Regions from separate parts of the Homo sapiens genome. Here all the other regions are linked to region 1. The links are contacts of gene promoters, found by promoter capture Hi-C in blood cells and fetal thymus (Javierre and others, 2016). All regions are on one chromosome and are shown on one strand. The core of a region is centred on a gene start or on the middle of the fragment in contact, and the rest is flanking DNA. Distances in the headings are between cores, read along the strand shown. Region 1 holds the start of PAK4 (p21 (RAC1) activated kinase 4). Region 2 holds the start of EIF3K (eukaryotic translation initiation factor 3 subunit K). Region 3 holds the start of EID2B (EP300 interacting inhibitor of differentiation 2B). Region 4 overlaps DLL3 (delta like canonical Notch ligand 3). Region 5 overlaps PLEKHG2 (pleckstrin homology and RhoGEF domain containing G2). Region 6 overlaps MED29 (mediator complex subunit 29).

The links. Contacts are between HindIII fragments. The CHiCAGO score rates a contact against its expected background, and 5 or more counts as called.
Region 2: the fragment with the promoter of EIF3K here is called in contact with the fragment with the promoter of PAK4 in region 1 in 3 of 17 cell types (naive CD8 T cells, naive CD4 T cells and erythroblasts); the score reaches 6.4 in naive CD8 T cells.
Region 3: the fragment with the promoter of EID2B here is called in contact with the fragment with the promoter of PAK4 in region 1 in 12 of 17 cell types (naive B cells, total B cells, monocytes and 9 more); the score reaches 15.4 in naive B cells.
Region 4: a fragment that was not itself captured here is called in contact with the fragment with the promoter of PAK4 in region 1 in 4 of 17 cell types (monocytes, naive B cells, fetal thymus and 1 more); the score reaches 6.2 in monocytes.
Region 5: a fragment that was not itself captured here is called in contact with the fragment with the promoter of PAK4 in region 1 in 1 of 17 cell types (fetal thymus); the score reaches 6.5 in fetal thymus.
Region 6: a fragment that was not itself captured here is called in contact with the fragment with the promoter of PAK4 in region 1 in 13 of 17 cell types (total CD8 T cells, naive B cells, fetal thymus and 10 more); the score reaches 9.6 in total CD8 T cells.

Annotation. Positions count from the first base shown.
Region 1 is chr19:39,123,897-39,127,440 of GRCh38, reverse strand. It overlaps PAK4 (p21 (RAC1) activated kinase 4), which reads right to left and starts at 1,655. Exons shown (of 10, transcript NM_005884.5): 1 at 1,522-1,655. The HindIII fragment of the contact is 5,933 bases long and covers 561-3,544 here.
Region 2 is chr19:38,617,938-38,621,481 of GRCh38, reverse strand. EIF3K (eukaryotic translation initiation factor 3 subunit K) reads right to left here and starts at 2,294. Exons shown (of 8, transcript NM_013234.4): 1 at 2,155-2,294; 2 at 1,047-1,145. The coding sequence starts at 2,213. MAP4K1 (mitogen-activated protein kinase kinase kinase kinase 1) reads left to right here and starts at 3,529. Exons shown (of 31, transcript NM_001042600.3): 1 at 3,529-3,544. RefSeq lists an enhancer at 2,956-3,005. The HindIII fragment of the contact is 6,969 bases long and covers 1-2,526 here.
Region 3 is chr19:39,531,043-39,534,586 of GRCh38, reverse strand. It overlaps EID2B (EP300 interacting inhibitor of differentiation 2B), which reads left to right and starts at 1,735. Exons shown (of 1, transcript NM_152361.3): 1 at 1,735-3,544. The coding sequence starts at 1,785. The coding sequence ends at 2,270. It also overlaps the pseudogene CRIPTOP7. The HindIII fragment of the contact is 7,702 bases long and covers 1-3,057 here.
Region 4 is chr19:39,506,026-39,509,569 of GRCh38, reverse strand. DLL3 (delta like canonical Notch ligand 3) reads right to left here. Exons shown (of 9, transcript NM_203486.3): 7 at 1,952-2,531; 8 at 1,656-1,740; 9 at 1,101-1,318. The coding sequence ends at 1,313. Among named protein-coding and RNA genes, the nearest start is that of SELENOV, 7.3 kb to the left of the region's middle. RefSeq lists silencers at 2,000-2,149, 2,330-2,429. The HindIII fragment of the contact is 8,029 bases long and covers 1-3,544 here.
Region 5 is chr19:39,420,348-39,423,891 of GRCh38, reverse strand. PLEKHG2 (pleckstrin homology and RhoGEF domain containing G2) reads right to left here. Exons shown (of 19, transcript NM_022835.3): 12 at 3,233-3,266; 13 at 3,040-3,141; 14 at 2,896-2,943; 15 at 2,779-2,817; 16 at 2,593-2,609; 17 at 1,604-1,777; 18 at 239-1,160; 19 at 1-159. Among named protein-coding and RNA genes, the nearest start is that of PLEKHG2, 9.5 kb to the right of the region's middle. The HindIII fragment of the contact is 7,366 bases long and covers 1-3,544 here.
Region 6 is chr19:39,395,328-39,398,871 of GRCh38, reverse strand. MED29 (mediator complex subunit 29) reads right to left here. Exons shown (of 4, transcript NM_017592.4): 4 at 1-1,415. The coding sequence ends at 1,173. Among named protein-coding and RNA genes, the nearest start is that of MED29, 5.7 kb to the right of the region's middle. RefSeq lists an enhancer at 502-551. The HindIII fragment of the contact is 3,484 bases long and covers 206-3,544 here.

The sequences.
Region 1 (3,544 bases), core at 406-2,905:
TGCAGCAAGGCGAGCCAGGGTGGTCCCGGGCCAGCTGAGAGTGAGCGACCCGTCAGTGAGAGAGGGCAGGGTGGGGAAAGGATTCCCAGCAGAAGGAACAGGAAGGTCAAAGACCGGGCGGGAGGCATGGGCCTGGAGTTGGAGAACAGTAAAGGGGCTGGGGAGAAATGGGCAGAGCCATAAGAAGTGAGGTGGGAGTGACTAAGGACCACAGTGAGAGCTTAGGGTTTTAAGAACAGTGAACACCCCGCTCTGCCCAGGGTACCACCCAGGGACACTCTCCCCAGTCAGAAGCCCGTCGGACTCCCTTGCTCGGACTCCAGACCACCTACAAACACCCTACTCCCATAGGCTCACAGGAATCTTCCCTGCCAGATCACACCCTTCCAAGGAAACCAAGCAGACAATCCGATCCGCCCAGGGAGTGGCCCAGCCCTGCCCAGCCCCCTGCTTCCAGGAGAGACCTAATGGCTGGCAGCGGACAATGTGGCGACCAGGGGCAGGAGCCCTGGAATCACCCAGGCCCAGCTTCGATTCTAACTCTGCCTTCAGCAGAAGCTTCTGAGCCTCATTTTTCCCGTCTGTAAAGTAGGTTCATCTTGAGCACTCACTTCACAAGATTGCAGCAGGAGTGAAATACGACCGGGCACACAGGGCGTGGAGCACAGTGTGAGCCCTCATTAAACATTAACCGACATTATGATGATTTGAGAGGCGGTCGGCCAGAGCAGGGCTCTGGGCCAGAACTCCGGAGTTAGAATCCCAGCGCACAACTTATGCATCGGGTGACCTTGTGCAAATCACTTAACCTCTTAATACCAGGTTAAGACCCCCTAAGACTATAGTGAGGACTGAATAAGCTCATACAAGTAAAGCGTTAAAAAGAGGGTCTAGCCCATAGTGTTTCATGAGTGTTTGCCATTATTATTTGTGGGAGGGTTCCCCCTTCTCCTGTCACCAGGAAGCATCTCTGACCCGGCCCCCCCCCCCCCCCCCGTCCCCCGCAATACGCCCTCCTTGGGTTTTAATTTTTGACTCTGGGAAACAGCTGCCCCGCTGTCAGATTCTCACCTTTGTACCTTCTAGGCACGCCCCAGCTTTGAACCCCTAAAAGACGCCCCCGAACCTAAAACTCATTCATCTGCTCCGCTAGGGGCAGCTTTAAACCTCCAACCTGGCGCCCCTGGGGCTGTGACCTCTGACCCTCGTGGGGGCAGCCTTCCCTCAAATTATTAACTTTGACCCTGCCTTTTTTGAGACTCGCCCAGAACCCCTCGAACGCGCCCCCACTTCGAATTTCAAACTTTGCACTCCCCTTCGCCACGCCCCCTTCGCTGGTTTGATCTCCGACCTCCACTACAACTCCCTCCAGTCTGCGTTAACCCCCGACCCCTCGGACGCGACCCTTCCCTCCACCAGTGACCTTTGACCCCGGCGGCCCCGCCCCCCTCCTCGCGGAAACGCCGTCCCGCCGCCAGCGCCCGGCCCACCGCAAGCCCCTGGCCGGACCCCTTATCCTACCGGCTCGGCGCCGCAGTCGCTCGCGGCCTAACTGCTCGACCTGGAACTCCGCGCCCTCGCGCCTCCCTCAGCTCTCTTGCACCGCCACCACCGCGGACACTCCCGCCGCCATGTTGAATCCCCAACGAACATCCGGGGCTTTCCCCCCTCACCGCCCACCAGTCCCCATAGCAACGAGGCTGACCGGGCAGTGGGCAGGGCCAGTGCGGGGGCGGAGTCGGGCGCCTCTCAGGGCCCGCTCCAGCCTCCGATTGGTACAGAGCGTCCAATCGGAGACCTTCGGGCAGAAAATGCCAAGCGGGGATTGGAAATTTTGGAAAAGGTGCGGGAAGGCTGGCTCCCGGCCCACTGAGGTCCTTAAAGGGGAAATGACTGTTTTCGTGTGATACCGATTTTCTAACTTCCCCCCCAGAAGGAGTTAGGGGCTGGGAGAAAGTAATGAGTTAATGGGCAGAAACAGTTCTTAAGCACTTACTAGGAGGCAGGCACCGGGATAAGTGTTTTACTTGCATTTTCTCGCTGCATATACAACCCTGTGGTATAATATCATTAATACCCATTTTACAGATAAAGAAACAGAGGTTCAGAGGGTGAAATAGCTGGCTTAGCATCATAGAAAGAAGGTAATGAGTTTTGAACGCTGGTCTGTCTGAGCCCGGGAACCTGAGACTGTTTGCTCTTCAATTTTTAAATAAGTTTTTACGAAGTAATTGGTCAAAATATTGAAAACAAACAGCAGACATCTTCTTTAAAAATTTTTTTAAATTTTATTTTTACTTATTTATTTGTCTTGAGATAGAGTTTCGCTCTTGTTGCCCAGGCTGGAGTGCAATGGCGCGATCTCAGCTCACTGCAACCTCCGCCTCCCGGGTTCAAGAGATTCTCCTGCCTCAGCCTCCTGAGTAGCTGGAATTACAGGCGTCCACCACCACACCCAGCTAATTTTTTGTATTTTTAGTAGAGACAGCGTTTCACCATGTTGGCCAGGTCGAACTCCTGACCTCAGGTGATCTATCCGCCTCGGCCTCCCAGAGTGCTGGGATTACACGTGTGAGCCACCAAGCTGGCCTTTTTCTTTTATTTTTAAAGAGAGAGTTTTGTTGTGTTGGCCAGGCTGGTCTCGAACTCCTGGGCTCAAACTATACTCCTGCCTCGGCCTCCCAAAGTGCTGGGATTGCAGGCGTGAGCCACTGCGCCCGGCCAGACATCTCTCCTCCTGGATCTTATTCACTGGACTCCAGCCTTCATGCTGTTCCTGAACTCTTGTCAGGTGCGCTCTCACCTCACAGTCTTTGCACTGGTTGTTCCTCTGCCTGGAACATACTCTTCCCCCAGGTATCCTTATCTCTCCCTCCCTTTTTTCAGGGCTTTACACAGATGTCACTTTCTCTGTGAACTAATTCCCTCGCTCACCCTAAGGAAAGCAGCAAACATCCCTCTCACATACTACCAAACTCTGTCTGCTTTGTTCTTATTTCTCACTCCTAATTGTAGTTATTGCTTGTTGGTTGTCTCCTCTGCTGGAATGTCAGCCCCATGACAACATGGATTTCTGTCTTTGTTCACTGCTGCATTCCCAGTGCCCCAGCACTGTTGGCATGTAGATGCTCAGTAAACATTGGTGGAAGGGCTGTTTGAATGCGTGGTAATTCCACCCCTTCAGAGATACTCTTAAATGTTTGGTGCTTCTCCTCTGCCCCAGAACAGCCACATAGTAGGCATTTAATTAATTTCTACTAATGTCGGTGGCAACAATGAATGAATGATTGAATGATGAGTTAATTTTTCTTTATGTTTACCTATCTTTTTTCTTTTTATTTGTTCATTCGTTTTTTTTTTTGTTTGTTTTGTTTTTTGTTTTTTTTTTTTTTTTTAGATAGGGGTCTTACTCTGTCGCCCAGGCGGGATTGCAGTCTGAAACTCCTGGGCTCAAGTGATCCTTCCAACCTAGCCTCTCAAGTAGCTGGGACTATAGGCATAAGCCACCACACCGGCTAATTTTCTTTCTTTCTTTCTTTTTCTT
Region 2 (3,544 bases), core at 1,045-3,544, 510 kb after region 1:
GTTAAACTACATGTTTGCTTAATGTATTAGCCTGTACATGTGTTCTGTAATTAACCTTTATTTATTTTTGAGACAGGGTCTCACTCTGTCGCCCAAGCTGGAGTGCAGTGGTATGATCTTGGCTCACTGCAACCTCTGCCTCCCAGGCTCAAAAAATTCTCCTGCCTCAGCCTCCCAAGGAGCTGGGACTACAGCCATGCGCCACTGGGCCCAGCTAATTTTTGTAGAGACAGGGTTGTGCCATGTCACCCAAATTGGTAATTCTTTTTTTTTTTTTTTTTTTTAAAAAGAGGGGTCTCACTCTGTCCCCCAGGCTGGAGTGCAGTGGCACTATCATGGCTCACTGCACCTTAATCTTCCAGGCTTAAGCGATCCTTCCACCTCAGCCTCTCAAGTAGCTGGAACTACAGCCACACACCGCTACATTAATTTTTAAATTTTTTCGTAGGGTTGGGTCTCGCTATGTTGCCATGGATGGTCTCGAACTCTTTGGCTCAAGTGAGTCTCTCGCCTCAGCCTCCCAAAGTGCTGGGATTACAGGCATGAGCCCCTGCGGCCACCCTAATTGATTTTTTATTATTATTTTTGAGACGGAGTTTCGGTCTTGTTGCCCAGGCTGGAGTGCAATGGCGCGATCTTGGTTCACCACAATCTCCGCCTCCTGGGTTCAAGCAATTCTCCTGCCTCAGCCTCCCGAGTAGCTGGGATTACAGGCATGTGGCACCACGCCTGGCTAATTTGGTATTTTTTAGTAAAGATGGGGTTTCTCCGTGTTGGCCAGGCTGGTCTCAAACTCCCTACCTCAGGTGATCCGCCTGCCTCATCCTCCCAAAGTGCTGGGATAACAGGCGTGAGTCACCGCGCCCGGCAATTGATTTTTCAAAAACCATCCCTCCTCCTGTCCCAACTTCCTTGGCTTCCTAGTCTTGCACACCAAGAGATGCTGCATTGTTCAGGATACTACCAGCCACCCCCTTGCCCTGTACTGGGAGTGGCACCCTGCTAGTTGCTGCAATGGGAGTGTAGACAGAGAGCTAGACACTTACAGCTTCAGGACAGCCAGGTTGGCTTCCAGATCATAGGCATTTTCCTTGGCCTGCGTCTCTACATAGCGCTCCAGGGTGGCCAGGTTCTCAGGATTGTACCTAAAGGAGAATCAAGATAGGTGAGCACAGAGGAGACAGAAGCTGAGGCCAGCCACCTTATGGAGCAAGGGGCCACTGTAACCTGCTCCTCCCGCCCTTCCCCTCTAAATCTGGCACTGGCCACTTGCTCTATCCAGGTAGTGAATTATGTCCAGTATAATCTCTAGTAAAACTTATTCTTATCCCAGACCTCTCGCCTAAGCTCTAAACTCCACTGGAGCCCTGGCTCTTCCCTAGGATGCCTCCTCAACCTCTGAGCCAGTCAGTCACTGCAGCTTGTACACCTGGCCTCCTGAATGTCTCTGCTACTCACCCCTTCCTCCCCTGTTCAGGCCTCCACCCTGATCCAGCCCCATCCTCTCCTGCCTACCTCGCTGCCTACTTCCTCCATGTCCACCTGAACACTCTGGCCTTTGCTTCCCCCATTTCAGTTCTAATCTCTCCCGGCTATCGCTGTCTGCTGTCAGGTTTGTCTCCCTTATGGAAAGGGAACTCAGACCGTGAAGGCATGATCTGCCGCTGTCTGATTCGCCTGTGGTTCCCAGCATTGCCTAGCACTGACAGTTTATTTCAGTAAACGTGTGGAGAATGAATGACTTATAGAGCAGAGAAGGGAGAGATTAAGAGGCACTCAAAGGAGGCGGAGCAGAGAAGGAAACCTTAAGGCAATTTACGAAGAGACTGAGTGGTACCAAGATTCTCTCGCTTCTAGGCCTTTGCAGTGCTTTTGTTTCTTTCTTTTAGAGACGGGGTTTGGCTGTTGCCCAGGCTGGTCTCTAACTCCTGGGCTCAGGCGACCCACCTACCTCGGCCTCCCAAAGTGCTAGGATCACAGGCGTGAGCCACTACCCCCAGCTCAGTGCCGTTTCTTTAAGCATCTCCTCCTCCAGGAGGATAGAGAAACCCCACCCCGCGGCAAGCCCAGGACCCTGAACACCCCTTGCTGTCTCCGGAAAACCCTCTCCTCCGCCCCGCTTGGCCAGAGCGCTTCCTCCAACCGGGCTCAGACCTGTCGATACCCTTGAGCAACTTGCCCACGTTGGCTCTCATCTGCTCAAACATCGCCATGACTTCTGTCGCCTTCCACAACCAGGGCTGGAGGCTAACACTGACCCGGCACGGCGTCCTCAAGGACGGGAACAGGAAGAGGTGGTGGAAACGGAAACGACGTCGTTGTTGTCGCTCCAGCTCCTTGGGTGCGGTAAAGGGAAAGGCTCTAGCAGCAGCCGCCACGCTTTCCGGCTGCCACGTGACTTCTTCCTCGCAGGCGCAATTGGCGCGTGCGCATTCGCGCCACTCAAGCTGGACAGACAGCGTGAGAAAAATCTTACTGGATCCCAGTGCGCAGGCGCCTCTCGTGGCGAGGGGGCGGGGCTAAGCTTTTCCCGGGCCTCACAGACCCAGTTCCAGTGCCGGTAGCGCGGGAGCGTGCGCGCGCGAACTCACCGGGAAGCACCCGGAGCTCTGGCGGCGTGCGCGCGCGTTGTATTGCGCGCGGCCATGAGGCCACGGAGCTCTGCGGGAATGCACGCAGCAGCCTTACGTTTAGGCCATGGCCAAGTTCCGAGGGAGGTGTTCTGAGGTCCCTCTTGCCACAGGCCTGGGCGCCTGGTGCAGGATCCTGAGCTCTCCAGTTTCAAGTCTCAGCCCTTGGTCCCCAGCTCCAGGAGGAGGGTCCCACAAAGCTACTGTGCTCTGCCGGGCAGGGGCTGGGGTGAGGGCTCCTGGACTTCGCCGGATCGCGCCCCGTCTCCATTAGGTTCCGGTCTTGGAGCTGAGGGCGAGCGTCCCATTTGTACTGCCATGAATTATATATTATGTATAGGTTTTGTACACTGCAGGCCTACAAAATGCAGTTATGTGCCATGCATGTGGAGGTATATGTCCTGGGTACATCCACGTGTGTACTGTGCACACAGGTATCCAGGCAGATGCACGTCTACACGCCTGCGCAGTGCAGAGGAGGTAACCCAAGTGCATGTATGTGACAGGTGAACAGGCATGTACACTGCATAGCCATCCCTTTGCAGACCTGCCGCCTTCGGGTTGTGGCCAAACCTTCAAGCACCCAGCAGAGGTTTAGACACTACCTAGGAGACGGGGGCGGGGGTTCTAAGGCACCCCCCTCCAACCCAGTTACGATTAAGATCATTTGCATCACATTTACATCCAGCCCTGGGCCTTGGAGGTTGAGGGTGGTCCCTTGGGTCCCAAGACAAGCTGCCCCTCAGAGGCTCTCAGAGCCCAGGGGACGGGGGGGTGGAGCCCGTTGCACAGTCGTGCAGTGCAGCTGGGGCAGGAAGCGAGAGTGAGGAGGGGGGAGGCCACAGCCCGCGGAGGCAAGGCGGGTGCAGGGCTTCTGGGGACGGAGGGAGGTGCCAGAAGTTGAGCCCTGAGGC
Region 3 (3,544 bases), core at 486-2,985, 410 kb before region 1:
CCCTGAGATGGACACGCAAGTTCCTGATGACCCAGCCCAGCAACTAATCCCAGTTCAAAGGCTTCAAAATGGCCATGATCCAAATCACACTGGAAGAGAAGCAGGCCATCTTCCTGCAGTCCATAGCTCTGTTGTTGTCCCCTTGAAGTTACCTTCCAGAGAAGTCCTTTCTTTTGTCTTCTGTGGAATATCACAAATGTGCTTTTTGAAGCATATATGTCACATGTAGGAGAACTCCATCTCTCCAAGAGAACTGTAGAAACAAAGTAAGGTACACGTGAGTCAGAATGATTTCCAACCCAATCAGCTCCCAGACACGACCTGTGATAGGTCAGAATTTTTAGATGGATCCTCCTGAAGTTCAATTGCCAGCAACTCTCATATTTGGATTCCAGCTAAATTCAAAGGATTTTTTTTCGAGACAGGGTCTTGCTCTGTCATACAGGGCTGGAGTGCAGTGGTGCAATCATAGCTCACTGCACAGTCCACCTACCAAGCTCAAGTCATCCTCCCACCTCAGCCTCCTGAATAGCTGAGACTACAGGTGCACATGCCACCATGCCTGCCTAATTTTTTTTTTCTGTAGGGACAGGGGTCTCACTATGTTGCCCAGGCTGGTCTCAAACTCATGGGCTCAAGCGATCCTCCCACCTTTGCCTCCCAACTTGCTGGGATTACAGGCATGAGCCACTACACCCAGCCACAGCTGACTGATTTTAAATGGAACATAGACTTTCACGTTTTGGGTTATCATCAGGATCAGAGCTAGCCACACAGAAAGGCTAACCATATCATTAGAGAGTTGGGGCTTGGAGCCATGTGATATCAGGTAGGAGGCTGGAGATTGACTTCAACAAAATGGACGATGGTTTAATCAAGCATGCCTAGGTAGTAAAACCCCAGTAAAAACTCTGGACACCAAAGCCTGGGTGAGAGTCCTATGTTAGCACTACCCCCACACTTATTGCCACACATGGACGACAAAGGGTAACACATCCCTAGGAACACAGGAACTTCACATTTGGAACCCTCCCCATCCCAGATTGTGCCTTATACATCTCTTCTAATCTGTGTCCTTTGCCTGTAATAAGCATGACTGTGAATATAACAGATTTCAATGAGCTCTGGGAATTATCAAACCTAAAGGTGGTTTTGGGAAACCCCCAAACTTCCAGTGTCAAAATATTACTTACAGGCCAGGCCGAGTGGCTCAGGCCGGTAATCCCAGCACTTTGGGAGGCCAAGGCAGGATGATCACTTGAGTCCAGGAGTTCGAGACCAGCCTGGGCAACATAGTGAGACCCAATTTCTACAAAAAATAAAAAATCAGCTGGGTGTGGTTGTGTGCACCTGTAGTTCCAGTTACTCCAGAGGCTGAGGCAGGAGGATGGCTTGAGGCTGGGAGGTCAAAGCAGCAGTAACCGAGATCGCACCACTGCACTCCAGCCTAGGCGACAGGGCGAGACCCAGTCTGAAAAAAAAAAAAAAAAGACAGGAGCTGGAAAATGACCGTATAAGGAACTTTACATTAATACTGAAGTGGTTGTAATTTAAGATACCGCGCAGTCCGCAGGTCCTCAGGCGCTCAGAGGACCAGAGGCGGCTACAGACGTAATGGCTACTCAGGACCGCTAGGGAACGCTAGAGGATTGGCCACCGTGCTTACGCATGCGCACACTCTGGCACGCACAGCGTTTACGCGCTCACTGAGACTCGCGCATGCGCAGGTCTCGCATACAGCAGTGCAGTGCCGTTATTCCAGTCTCCGTAGAAACGCTGGGACTATGGCGGAGCCGACTGGGCTGTTGGAGATGTCCGAGCTCCCCGGAGATAGCAGTGTCCCACAGGTGGGCACCGCGAGTGGCGTCAGCGACGTACTGCGGGGGGCAGTCGGCGGCGGGGTTCGGGTGCAGGAGGCTCGGGAAGGCCCAGTGGCCGAAGCTGCGCGGTCCATGGCGCGGATGCCGGGCCCTGTGCCCGGGCCCATCCCCAGCAGCGTCCCGGGCCTGGCCTCCGCGCCAGACCCCCATCAGCAGCTCGCTTTCTTAGAAATTAACCGGCAGCTGTTGTTCCGCGAGTATCTGGATGGTAGCTCCATGATTCCGGTCAGATTACTACGGGATTTCGAGGAACGCCGCAGGCTGTTTGTGGAAGGCTGCAAGGCGAGGGAAGCAGCCTTTGACGCGGATCCCCCGCAGATGGACTTCGCTGCTGTCGCGTTTACGGTAGCGCTGACTGCCTCCGAGGCCCTCAGTCCTCTGGCCGACTGAGTCGGCTGTGATGATGACATTGGTGGCAAGGAATAGCCAAGTGACCCTTTTGGGATCAAAAGAACAGGCAGGCTGTGCCAGTTTAGTTAACTCAGTCATTAGGGGGAATGCAAACTGGAAGGGAATACGGCAATGTGCAATTGAAGGAGGAAGCACACTCCGAAATGGAAACAGACAAGACTGTTGAATCTTGTTTTCTTTCTTCTTTTTTAGTATTATTTAAATAGAGAAGGGAGTCTCGCATCCCTAGGCTGGTCCCGAACGCTTGGACCCGAGCGATCCTCCCGCTTCGGCCTCCCAAAGTGCTGGGATTACTTTACAGGCGTGAGCCACCGCGCCCGGCCGAATCTTGTTTTCAAACAGGTCCCAAGACACTTCTGACTTAGCACTTTGTTAGCAATGCATTTTCCTGCATTTGTGAAGAATCCTTCATGACTTTCACCATAAAGGATGGTTTTGCAAAGATATGAGAAAAAAAAAATGCCAATAACAGAACCCATAGAAATGAACCTAAGTGATGAAAGAAAACAAAGAAATAGAGTTGTCAGGAATCCAGGTGTACCTGAGTTACTAGGATTGGAAGGCTATTGAGAGGACTTTGAAATTTCACAATTTGTGGTCATGTCAACAAATCCTAGTGTAAGATTCATATTTGTGTTTTCTGAGGTACTTTAGATGAACAGTAAATATTCAATAGAAAAAACCACGTATTATATGATCAGTGTTTTCAAGTCTATGTGAAATTGGGTAGGTGTGGAATAAACTTGTTTTTTGTTAATTTTAAGCTTTTTATTTTATTCTAGAATATGTATTCTATTCACAAGACTCAACAAAAAAAAGTATCGGCCGGGCGCACTGGCTTACGCCTGTAATCCCAGCACTTTGGGAGGCCACGGCGGGTGGATCACCTGAGGTCAGGAATTCAAGACCACCCTGGCCAACATGGTGAAACCCCATCTCTACGAAAAATAAAAAATTAACTGGGTGTGGTGGCACGCGCTTGTAGTCCCAGCTACTCGGGAGGCTGAGGCAGGAGAATCACTTGAACCTGGGAGGCGGAGGTTGCAGTAAGCCGAGATCACGCCACTGCACTCCAGCCTGGTCAACAGAGTGGGACTCCGTCTCAAAAAAAAGAAAAAAAGTATCAAAAGATGCTGTGAGAAATCTCTCTTGTTGCTGTCCTTTGCCAAACTCAGAACTATTCCATGCAGGTGCCATTGCTTGTGGCTTGGAGTTTTGTTGTTGTTTTCTTGGTTTTGCTTGTTTTTTGCTTT
Region 4 (3,544 bases), core at 721-3,220, 380 kb before region 1:
GTCAGTTTGCCTGCCTGACACAGTACTCATTTCTGGGAACAAACTGATCTGAGGGGAGCAGGGACACCCCATCACCTATATATTCCATGTGATCTGGGCAGGCTGACGTCACTCCCTACCACACAACAGGCAATAAGCAAGCCTGGCCAAATCAGAGGAAGCCATACTGCCTGGAGACTGGTTTAGGAGGGCCTACCAACGAGCCAGGGCCAATGAGAGATTCCCCACAGTGAAATCAATCAAGGGGTAAGAAGAGGCAACTGGAGAAAGACCAAGAGCCCCAGTCCATTGCTGCTGGAAACCATATCTACCCCTAGGATTTTTCCATTTTATGAGCTAATGCGTTTTTTGTTTTTGTTTTTTTTGAGACAGAGTCTTGTTCTGTCTCCAAGGCTAGAATGCAATGGCACAATCTCGGCTCACTGCAACCTCCACTTCCCGAGTTCAAGCAGTTCTCAGCCTCCTGAGTAGCTGAGATTACAGGTGCCTGCCGCTGCACCCAGCTAATTTTTGTATTTTTTAGTAGAGATGAGGTTCTGCCATGCTGGCCAGGCTAGTCTCCAACTCCCGACCTCAGGTGATCCACCCACCTCAGCCTCCCAAAGTGCTGGGATTACAGGGGTGAGCCACCACGCCCGGCCACTAATACATTTTTTTTTAAAGAGACAGGATCTTGCTGTATTGCCCAGGCTTTAGTGCAGTGGTGTGATCATAGCTCACTGCAGCCTCAAACTCCTGAGCTGAGGCGATCCTCCCGGCCTCAGCCTCACAAGTATGTAGAACTACAGGTGCGCCACCAGGCCTGGCTAATTTTGTTTTAATTTTTCGTATAGGGGTCTCGCTGTGTTGCCCAGCTGCTCTCCAACTCCCAGCCTCAAGCAATCCTCCTGCTTCAGCACTGATCTCACTCAGTGGTTCAGTGGGATTACAGCCGTGAGCCACTGCACCCAGCCATAAATTCTTTTATATTTAAAGCAGTTTGAGTCGTTTCCGACCCCTACAACATAAAGAGTCCTGTCTACTATTCTCCTCAGGAGACAAAATCTCTTCCCCTCAGCCCCAACATCAAATACAAAGCATTCAGCCTCGTTAGTCAAAACTGATCACAATAATAGCCTTTATAGGTGTTTCTAGAGAGATGGGGTGAGAAAAAATAGGATATAAATAACCATTATTTACAACTTGCAACAGTAAAGTTCCCCCAGACACCCCTTCAAGATTGAACTCCAAAGCCTCTGGGGCAGAGACTGGGCACCACCGAGCAAATACAAAAATCCACGCTCTGACTCCAGGTGCGGATGGAGGAGACGCGTCAGGCCTAGAAACAAAATGAGTAGGAAGCATTAGAGAGGCTGCCCCTCTGCCTCCCCTGCCTCCCCGCTGAGTACAATCAGTGGAAAAGCTCTGGCGGAGTCGGCATCGTGACCTCCTCAAGCCCATAGGTTTTTCAAAGAGAAGATGGCAGGTAGCTCAAAACGATAAGAGGGATGCAAAATAGGATGAAAGTAAGTTAGAACTGAAAATGGGCTTAAAACCTTCCAGAGACTCTACCCAATTCATTTCACGGACAGAATCGAGGAAGGGTAGGGAAAAAGCAGGTGCTGCCTCTGCCCAGCGCGCCCAGTGTGTAGCGGGGGGAAAAGGGGCGTCGCTACCTCCCGAGCGTAGATGGAAGGAGCAGATATGACATAAATCCCTTGAGGGTCTACATCTTCAGGGCGATTCCAATCTACGGACGAGCTGTGGGAGGAGAGAAAGAAGAAAAACTCAGACTCTTTAAATTCTCAGATCTTGTTTTCCCCTACCCATCACAAAGGGGAACCCAAAACCAGCTACCGGGGTAAGAGAGACCGACCAGGGAAATGCATCAAGGAATCGGGCCAACTGCACCACGGAGATGGGTAAAAGCAGCCAGCAGCGCAAGGCGTTCGTCTGTGGCGCAGCCCCTCACCTCGGACCATCCCCGGAACCCTCCTGCGTCCTTAGGTTGTTGAGTGCATCCGGGAGTGCGTGGACTGACGGCTCCGGGGTCCCAGCCAGCAAGCGAGACCCAGCATCCTGGGAGTGGCCACGGCGGCGCACGTGGACCAGCAAGAGCGCAGCGCCGGCCACGCCCGCGGCCACGAGCAGTCCCAGAGCCGGAGGCAAAAGGTAGCGCTGAGGGTCCCCGGGCCTGAGGCCCGGCGGGGCCGCGGGCAAGGCGCTTGCGCCGTCGGGGTGCACTGGGAACTCACACCGCGCTCCCATGTAGCCGGGAGCGCAAGCGCAGACGAGGCCGGAGAAGTGGGCGTAGCAGCGGCCGCCGTGAGCACAGGGGCGCGCGGCGCACGGGTCCGCGCGCTCGCGGCAGTCGCGGCCGCCGAAGCCCAGCGCGCAGGAGCAGCGGTGCGCGCCGCCGCCCTCCACACACGTGCCGCCGTTAGCGCAGGCGCGGCCCGCGCAGTCGTCCAGGTCGTGCTCGCAGCGAGGACCCGCGAAGCCGGCGCGGCAGCGGCAGCGCAGGGCGTGGCCCAGGTCCAGGCAGAGTCCGCCTGTGGGGAAGGGAGCATCAGAGGGCGCAGTCCGGGAGCCGGGGACCCACCTGCCCGCGCTGTTTCCCAGCTCTGTCATCGCTGCACGGGGTCCCCTTTTTCTCTCTAACTTAAGGGCCAGCGTCTTGGAGTGTGCCAGGAAAGCCAGCTCGCTTTTCTTCCTAATGAAGTTTTGGAATAATTAATTCAGCTCCACCTCTTTGGCTCTCGGTGCCCTTGTCTCTTTTTCCTTCGGCTTCGATCATACTTCAATAGTAGACAGCTCCCAGAACTACGTGTTTGAACCCTCTGGCCTTCCTCTGCCTAGAATACCCCTCCTCTCTTCCCTTCCTCCTTTTCTCACATTTTTTCCCACCTTTTCTCTTCCCTAGCCCACCCCTCAGGTTTCTACTCCGATGCTCCTTCCTCCATCCCAGCCCTGATCACTGCCCTGTGCTCCTACATCACAGCCCTGACCACCCACCCTGGGCTCTGTCTGAGGGTGTCTGTCTTCCCCTCTGGGCTGGTTCCCCCAGGAGGGTGCGGCCCAGAGATGTCCTGGTCGGTGCTGAGTCCCTAGTACCACACACCCCAGAATGAACACTCAGTGTTTGGGAGAGAATTATTGTATTCACTCGCAAGAAGATACACAGCCAGCCCTTTACATTCATGATCTTTTTTTTTTTTTTTTTCGAAACGGAGTCTCGCTCTGTCGTCCAGGCTGGAGTGCAGTGGCGCGATCTCGGCTCACTGCAACCTCCGCCTCCCGAGTTCAAGCAATTCTCTGCTTCAGCCTACATTCATGATCTTACTTAATCTTTTTTTTTTTTTTTTTTTTTTTTTTTTTTGAGACAGAGTGTCACTCTGTCGCCCAGGCGGGAGCGCAGTGGCATGATCTCGGCTCACTGCAACCTCCGCCTCCCGGGTTCAAGTGATTCTTCCGCCTTAGCCTCCCGAGTAGCTGGGATTACAAGCACCTGCCATCACGCCCGGCTAATTTTTTGTATTTTTAGTAGAGACGGGGTTTCACCATG
Region 5 (3,544 bases), core at 720-3,219, 300 kb before region 1:
AAACATGTAGACCCTGGCCATCCGGGCTGCCTCCCTGCTTTGACAAAGGTATGGCAGCTTGAACCCAGACAGCAGGACCCAGGGGGACAGACTCCTGGGCACATGTCAGTGGGAAGGCCAGCTCACATACCAGCACGTGTCCAAAGGCAGGCAGGAGCCCTGAATGCGAAAAGAGGATCGAGTCAGGACCACTACTCCAGCGGGGACCACCTCTGCCAACCACGTACCCGGACCTCACCTGGCTCTGCCTGCTCCTGGGGCAGACAGGGGGATGGCTGGGGTTGGGCCAGAACCCGAGGCCGGCGGCGCGGGGCATTGGCTGATGCCCGAGTCTCCGCCCGCTGCATCTGCTGGATCCGCTCGCTGTAAAGCCGGGCCAGCTCTCGCACTCGGGACGCCGTCCTTTCTGAACTCGGGGCTCCTGCCTTCCCGCTCCCGCTGTCTCCACCCAGATCCGAATCCTCCAGGATCAGCAGTGGCTCTGGGAAGCCTGGCCGGGCCAGCTGTCCCTGTTCCAATGCCTGCCAGGCGCTCCGGATTTCTGAGCAAGAGCGGAATGCCAGCTCATCTGGGAATCCCTGATGTTGGGTGACATCCTGGGGCTGGAAGTCTGTGAATGATACCCCTTCTTCATCCTCCTCTGGCCCTGCCTTGCCTCCTGAAGGCGGCTCTCCCAGTTTCCCAGGATTGCTCCCAGAAAACAGTTCTCTCCTGGTGGCTGGAGCCTCAGCTGGTTCCTGCAGAGGCCCTTGGAGCCAGGAGTCACAGGAGAGGGTGGGAGTGCTAGACAGACTGGGGGTGTTGGGGACACTAGGTATGGCTGGAAGGCAGGGCATCTCAAAAACATCGGAAATGTCAGAGAGACTAGGAAGGCGAGAACCTTCGGGAATTTCACAGCGGCTGGGAATTTCAGGAAGGTTGGGCACGTCAGGAATTTTGGTAAGGCAGGGAATGCTGGGCATTTCAGCTGCAATGGAACTTTCGAGCCCTTCCAGGACGTGGAGTGGGGAAGGCCCCCGTTCATCCATCTCCAGCCCTTCCTCTTCCTCCTCCTCCTCTTCTGAAGAGTCCCGGCTGGGCAGGGCTTGGAATGTGAGGGTTTCGCTGTCGCCAGGCACCTGGGAGTCTCCGGGGAACTTGGGAATGTCATGGGTGGACGGCTATAGTGGGCACAGGAGAACAAGCCAAACATATCAGCATGGTAGCTGGGTGTGGTGGCTCACGCCTGTAATCCCAGCACTTTGGGAGGCTGAAGTGGGCGGGTCACTTGAGGTTACGAGTTCGAGACCAGCCTGGCCAACATAGTGAAACCCTGTCTCTACTAAAAATACAAAAAAAAAAAAAAAATTAGCCGGGTGTGTTGGCGGGTGCCTGTAGTCCCAGCTACTCAGGAGGCTGAGGCAGGAGAATCGCTTGAACCTGGGAGGCAGAGCTTGCAGTGAGCCGAGATGGCGCCACTGCACTCCAGCCTCGGCAACAGAGCAAGACTCCATCTCAAATAAAAAAAAAATAAAGGTATCAGCATGGGCTGGCCTATCTGGTCCCTGGTCTGTGTGCCCACACCCAGAGGCCCAAGGACACCATGATGGGACAGCCAGCTCACCCCTGGATCTCGAAGGCCTCGCTGATTCAGCAGTTCCAGGATTTCTTCAGTGATTGAGGTCCCAGAGGGGTCCAGTGTTGGGGGTCCAGCATCCTCCAGGTCCTCAGGGGGTGCAGAGCCTGAAACTGGTGGCTGAGATTCTGGAGGGTAGAGTTCCCCTTCGCTGCCAGCGTGCTGTGAGGAGGGAAAGCAATGGAAGGCAAGAGCCAAGACTCCTCCCTCACATAGAGGACCCCAAGTCCCAATCCCCTTCTTTTGCGTTTGTTTGTTTTGAGATGGAGTCTCGCTCTGTCGCCCAGCCTGCAGTGCAATGGCGCCATCTCTGCTCACTGCAATCTCCGCCTCCCGGGTTCAAGCGATTCTGCTGCCTCAGCCTCCTGAGTAGCTGGGATTACAGGCGCCTGCCACAATGTCCAGCTAATTTTTGTATTTTTAGTAGAGTCGGGGTTTCTCCTTGTTGGCCAGCCTGGTCTCAAATTCCTGATCTCAGATGATCCACCTACCTCGGCCTCCCAAAGTGCTGGGATTACAGGTGAGCCACCGTACCTGGCTCAATTTTTAAATTTTTTTATTTTTCTCTTAAAATTTTTATTTATTTATTTGAGACAGGGTCTCACTGTGACCCATGCTGGAGTGCAGTGGTGTGTCCCAGCTCATTTTGCAACCTCTGCCTCCCAGGCTCAAGCAATCCTCCCACCTCAGTCTCCTGAGTAGCTGGGACTATGGGCATGCACTAGTGTGCCTGGCTAATTTTTTTGTACTTTTTGTAGAGATGGGGTTTTGCCATGTTGCCCAGACTGGTCTCAAACTCCTGGGCTCGAGCAATCCTCCTGCCTTGACCTCCCAAAATACTGAGATTACAGGCATGAGTTACTCTGTCTGGCCCCAATCCCCTTCTCATTCAGACCCAGGATTTTGGAACTCAAGCTCCCTTCTCCATCAGACCCAGAAGTCAAGGTGCCCAGACCCTATCTCGAGATATCTCTTACCTTGAATCCAGGCTTAGCTAAGGATGGAGAGATGAGAGAGAGAGAAGCATTAGTGAGATGTAAGGGAAAAAGAGTGATTCCCCCATAACTGATGAGCTGAAGCAACCACCCCTCCCCAACCCGCCCCAGACATCCCACCGGGCGACAGACAGGGATGGACCAGGCTGAACCGGGGCAGTCACTGACCGTTCTGTGGGAACATGACATAAGGGTCCTTCACCGGCTCTGCGGGGAGGACACAGTGATGTCAGGAGCCCAGCTCCCACCCCGATGCCTGGATCACCCTTAGGGGTGAGTGCTCACCAGACTGCCTGCGGCCTCGGCGAATCACAGAGGGCCCAGGAGATGGAGCTGTGGGAGGGAGGGCCAGAGCCCTGTGTGAGCCCAGCTCCCGGGTCCTAGGGAAGTGGGGCTGAGGGCTGGGACTCAGGGATCCACCGCCTTTACCTGTGTTCCTTCGCCCAGGGGTAAAACTTCTAGCATCTCGAGGTCGAGGAGACCCAAGTGGGGGTGTCAGGGGCTCTAGGACAGGCTTACTTTTGGGGGCACCTGTGGGGAGAGTTTTGGGGCTAAAAGCCAACTTTTTCTTGGAAGTAATTCGTCTACTTCCACACCCTCCCAGCCCAAGGCCCCAACTCACAATGCAGGCTGTTTTCAAGGAGAACTTGCTTTGCCTGAAAGACAGGAGGATGAGGGCTGAGGTGGGTCGATCTTGGAGTACCACAGAGAGGATACTTTAAGCACCGTAGTCATGCCCATTAATGGGTGCTGTTTTTGTTTTTAGATCTTGCTCTATACGCCAGGTTGGAGTACAGTGGTGCAATCATAGCTCACTCCAGCCTCTACTTCTGGGATCAAGCGATCTTCCCACCTCACCCTCCTGAGTAGCTGGGATTTCATATGTGCACCATCACATCCAGCTAATTTTTTTTTTTTTTTGAGACGGAGATTT
Region 6 (3,544 bases), core at 698-3,197, 270 kb before region 1:
AGGGTTTCCTTGCAGACGTGGGGTCCAGGACAGGAGGCCATGGAGTGCGAATGTGGGAACCATGGCACAGAAGATACTGGGTGGGGCAGTTCTCCAACCAGGCTGAGTCACTTGAGGCTTTCACACCCCAACATCTGAGCCTGGGCTGGTAGCTCCGCCCTGCACTTGCTCAGGCCTGAAGGCTGAGGCTGAGCTTCCTGAAGCTTCCAGGGAAGCAGGGAGTCTGAGGGGGCACTCCCTCCTTGAAGCCCCCTCCCCAGTGCCTGCTTCCCGGAGCTGGGGCTCAGGCGCCTGGGTTCTTCCCCAGGACTGATGATTCACCCCGGCTGGGGCCTTTTCACTTCTCCTTTGGGGCTAAAAATACTGGGACCCAGGCATCCAGCTGGGCCAGCCTTGCCACAAATTGCACAACGCCCCTCACTCAAGTTCCGCTGACGCAGGCTTGGGTGGGGGCCTGAGTTGCTCCCTGCTCAGACCTGTGGAGCTCAGAGCCTGGGCCCCTCCACTGCTCCTCTCCTAGGCCAAGGACCCTGGGGTCTGGGCTGACATGCGAGCCGCTGGGGGACTCTGGGCTTGGCTGTGGCCCCTGGAAATGAAGTCCCTTCCCTTAGCCCCAGATAACCCAGGGGTGCTGGCCCCCTGCATAGACACAGAGTCCCAGTTAGGAGCTGGGGATAGAAGACAGCTAAAGGGGACTAAGAGAGAGAGGTCAGAGTGAGAGAAATAGGACCATGGGGAGAAACACATTAACAGGAACAGAGAAACAAGGGAAAAAGAGACAGGATGAGAGAGACACAACTGTAATAGAGACACAGAGGAGTGGCACACAGAGACCACCTCCCAGCTGGAGACAGTCAGGAAGGACTGAGGGAGAGGGGACAGCCAGGGCTCCACACCCAGGCAAGAATGGGGGAGGGCCTGTGGAACAGAGAAGTCATCAACACACACAGTTCAAAGTCTACCCTAGGCTAGGAGGGGGAGCAGGAAGAAGGGGCAGGGACGCAGGGGCCCGGCCTGCGAGCTCCCTGTTGGCCTCTGCTGCCCCCTGCTGGCTCCCGCTGCGGTGCTCAGGCAGGAAGAGAGGAGGCTGCTGTGTTTAGGCCCAGGACGCTCTTCATTCCCTTTGCACACCACCCACCAACCACTGCCTGCCCCACTCCCTGTCCCCCACTTCACAGAGTGCCCCCAGGGCCAGCAGGTGGTGCGGGTGTCTTGCCCGTGACCTTGTTGGCACAGTCCAGCAGGGCGGTGTGAATGTCCTTGGCACAGGAAATCTGGGCTTTGATGACCGCCAGGTACTGTGGGTAGGGGAGGCTGTCAGGCTGCACTGCGTCGGGCTTGGTGGCTGTGGGCACCAACGTTGGAGAGTGCTTGGCACTGTCACAACTCTGTGACAGGCACTCATGCGCCAGGCGCTGTGGACAGGCAGGCAAGGGGACAGCATCAGCTCCACCCGAGGTCATTCTACCCCACCCCAAGGGCCAGCTGGGGGTTGTCGGCTTGGCCTCTGGATTTCCCAGGTCTTAGAGTCAGAGGTTGGCCCTGCCAGTCATTTGCTGGGGAACCTGGGGGCATGGCGGCTACTCTTCTCTGAGCCTCAGTTTCCTCCTTTGGAAAACGGGTTTAATAACCACCTCTTCCTACCTCATAAGGTGAGAACAGTGAGAGCAGGTGTATGAGACACAGGCACGGGTCCTGGCACACTGTTTAAAGTGCCAAGAACTGTTAGCTACTATCATTGTTACTGCCCTGGCTCCAGGCCTGGTGTTGGCAGTGGCATCTCACCCCTGGTTTTCTGCCTGCTTCTCTGGCTGCTCTAGGTACTACTTTCTTTTTTTTTTTTGAGATGGAGTTTCGGTTTTGTTGCCCAGGCTGGAGTGCAATGGCACGATCTCAGCTCACTGCAACCTCCGCCTCCCAGGTTCAAGTGATTCTCCTGCCTCAGCCTCCCGAGTAGCTGGGATTACAGGCACCCGCCACCACACCCGGCTAATTTTTTTTTTATTTTTAGTAGAGACAAGGTTTCACCACATTGGCCATGCTGGTCTCAAACTCATGACCTCAGGTGACCGACCCGCCTCAGCCTCCCAAAGTGCTGGAATTACAGGCATGAGCCACCGCGCCCAGGCTTTTTTTTTTTTCTTTTGAGGTGGAATCTCGCTCTGTTGCCCAGGCTGGAGTGCAGTAGCACGATCTTGGCTCACTGCAACCTCTGCCTCCTGGGTTCAAGTGATTCTTCTGCCTCAGCCTCCAGAGGAGCTGGCACTTCAGGTGCATGCCACCAAGCCTGGCTAATTTTTGTATTTTTAGTAGAGACGGGATTTCACCATATTGGCCAGGCTGGTCTCGAACTCCTAACCTCGTGATCTACCCGCCTTGGCATCCCAAAGTGTTGGGATTACAGGCATGAGCCACTTGTGCCCGGCCCCTTTTTTTTTGGAGACAGTCTCGCTCTGTTACCCAGGCTGGAGTGCAGTGGCGCCATCTTGGTTCACTGCAACCTCCACCTCCCGGGTTCAAGAGATTCTCTTGTCTCATCCAAGTAGCTGGGATTTCAGGTGCACGCCACCATGCCTGGCTAATTTTTGTATTTTTAGTAGAGACAGGGTTTTGCCATGTTGGCCAGGCTGGTCTTGAACTCCTGACCTTGTGATCTGCCCGCCTCAGGCTCCCAAAATGCTGGAGTTACAGGCACAAGCCACCGCGCCTGACCAGCTCTAGGTACTTCTTACACTACCTAAGACGTAAGTGCAGCCATTCCTAGGCCCTGTCTTCTCTCACTGTTCAAGCCCTCCCAGGGCTGTCACACCCACGCACACCACTCAGTTTCCACCTCTGCACTAATGGCGCCCACACTGTCGCTGGCCTCCCCCTGACATTTGTAGGGCCCTTGTACTCCCCAAAACTGCTTCTCCTAGGTCCCTGTTTCGGGGACAGTCCTCCTTTTTTTTTTTTGAGACGGAGTCTCGCTCTGTCACCCAGGCTGGAGTGCAGTGGTGCGATCTCGGCTCACTGCAAGCTCTGCCTCCCGGGTTCATGCCATTCTCCTGCCTCAGCCTCCCTAGTAGCTGGGACTGCAGGCGCCTGCCACCACGCCCGGCTAATTTTTGTATTTTTAGTAGAGACGGGGTTTCATCGTGTTAGCCAGGATGGTCTCGATCTCCTGACCTTGTGATCCGCCTGCCTCGGCCTCCCAAAGTGCTGGGATTACAGGCATGAATCACCGGGCCCAGTGACAGTCCTCCATTATAAACCAGAGTCCTGGGCCTCATCCTAGAAACTTTATCTCCTTCCAGCACACCGGTCCTGTGGCCCATATACAAAGCCCTGCACACGAAGCCTCTCAAGTTCCCCCAGTCTTCCCCATTTCCTCACGACCCCGCCCTGGTGGAGCCCAGTCCAGGCGTCCTTGGATCCTGCCATGGCTGCGCCCTTGGGCTCCTGCCTCCAGGGTTCAACCTCCCCTCATTTGTCAGCCAGAGGTATATTCCTAAAAAGCAGATAGGTCCATATTCTTCCCTGCTTGAAACCCTCCATGCTTCCC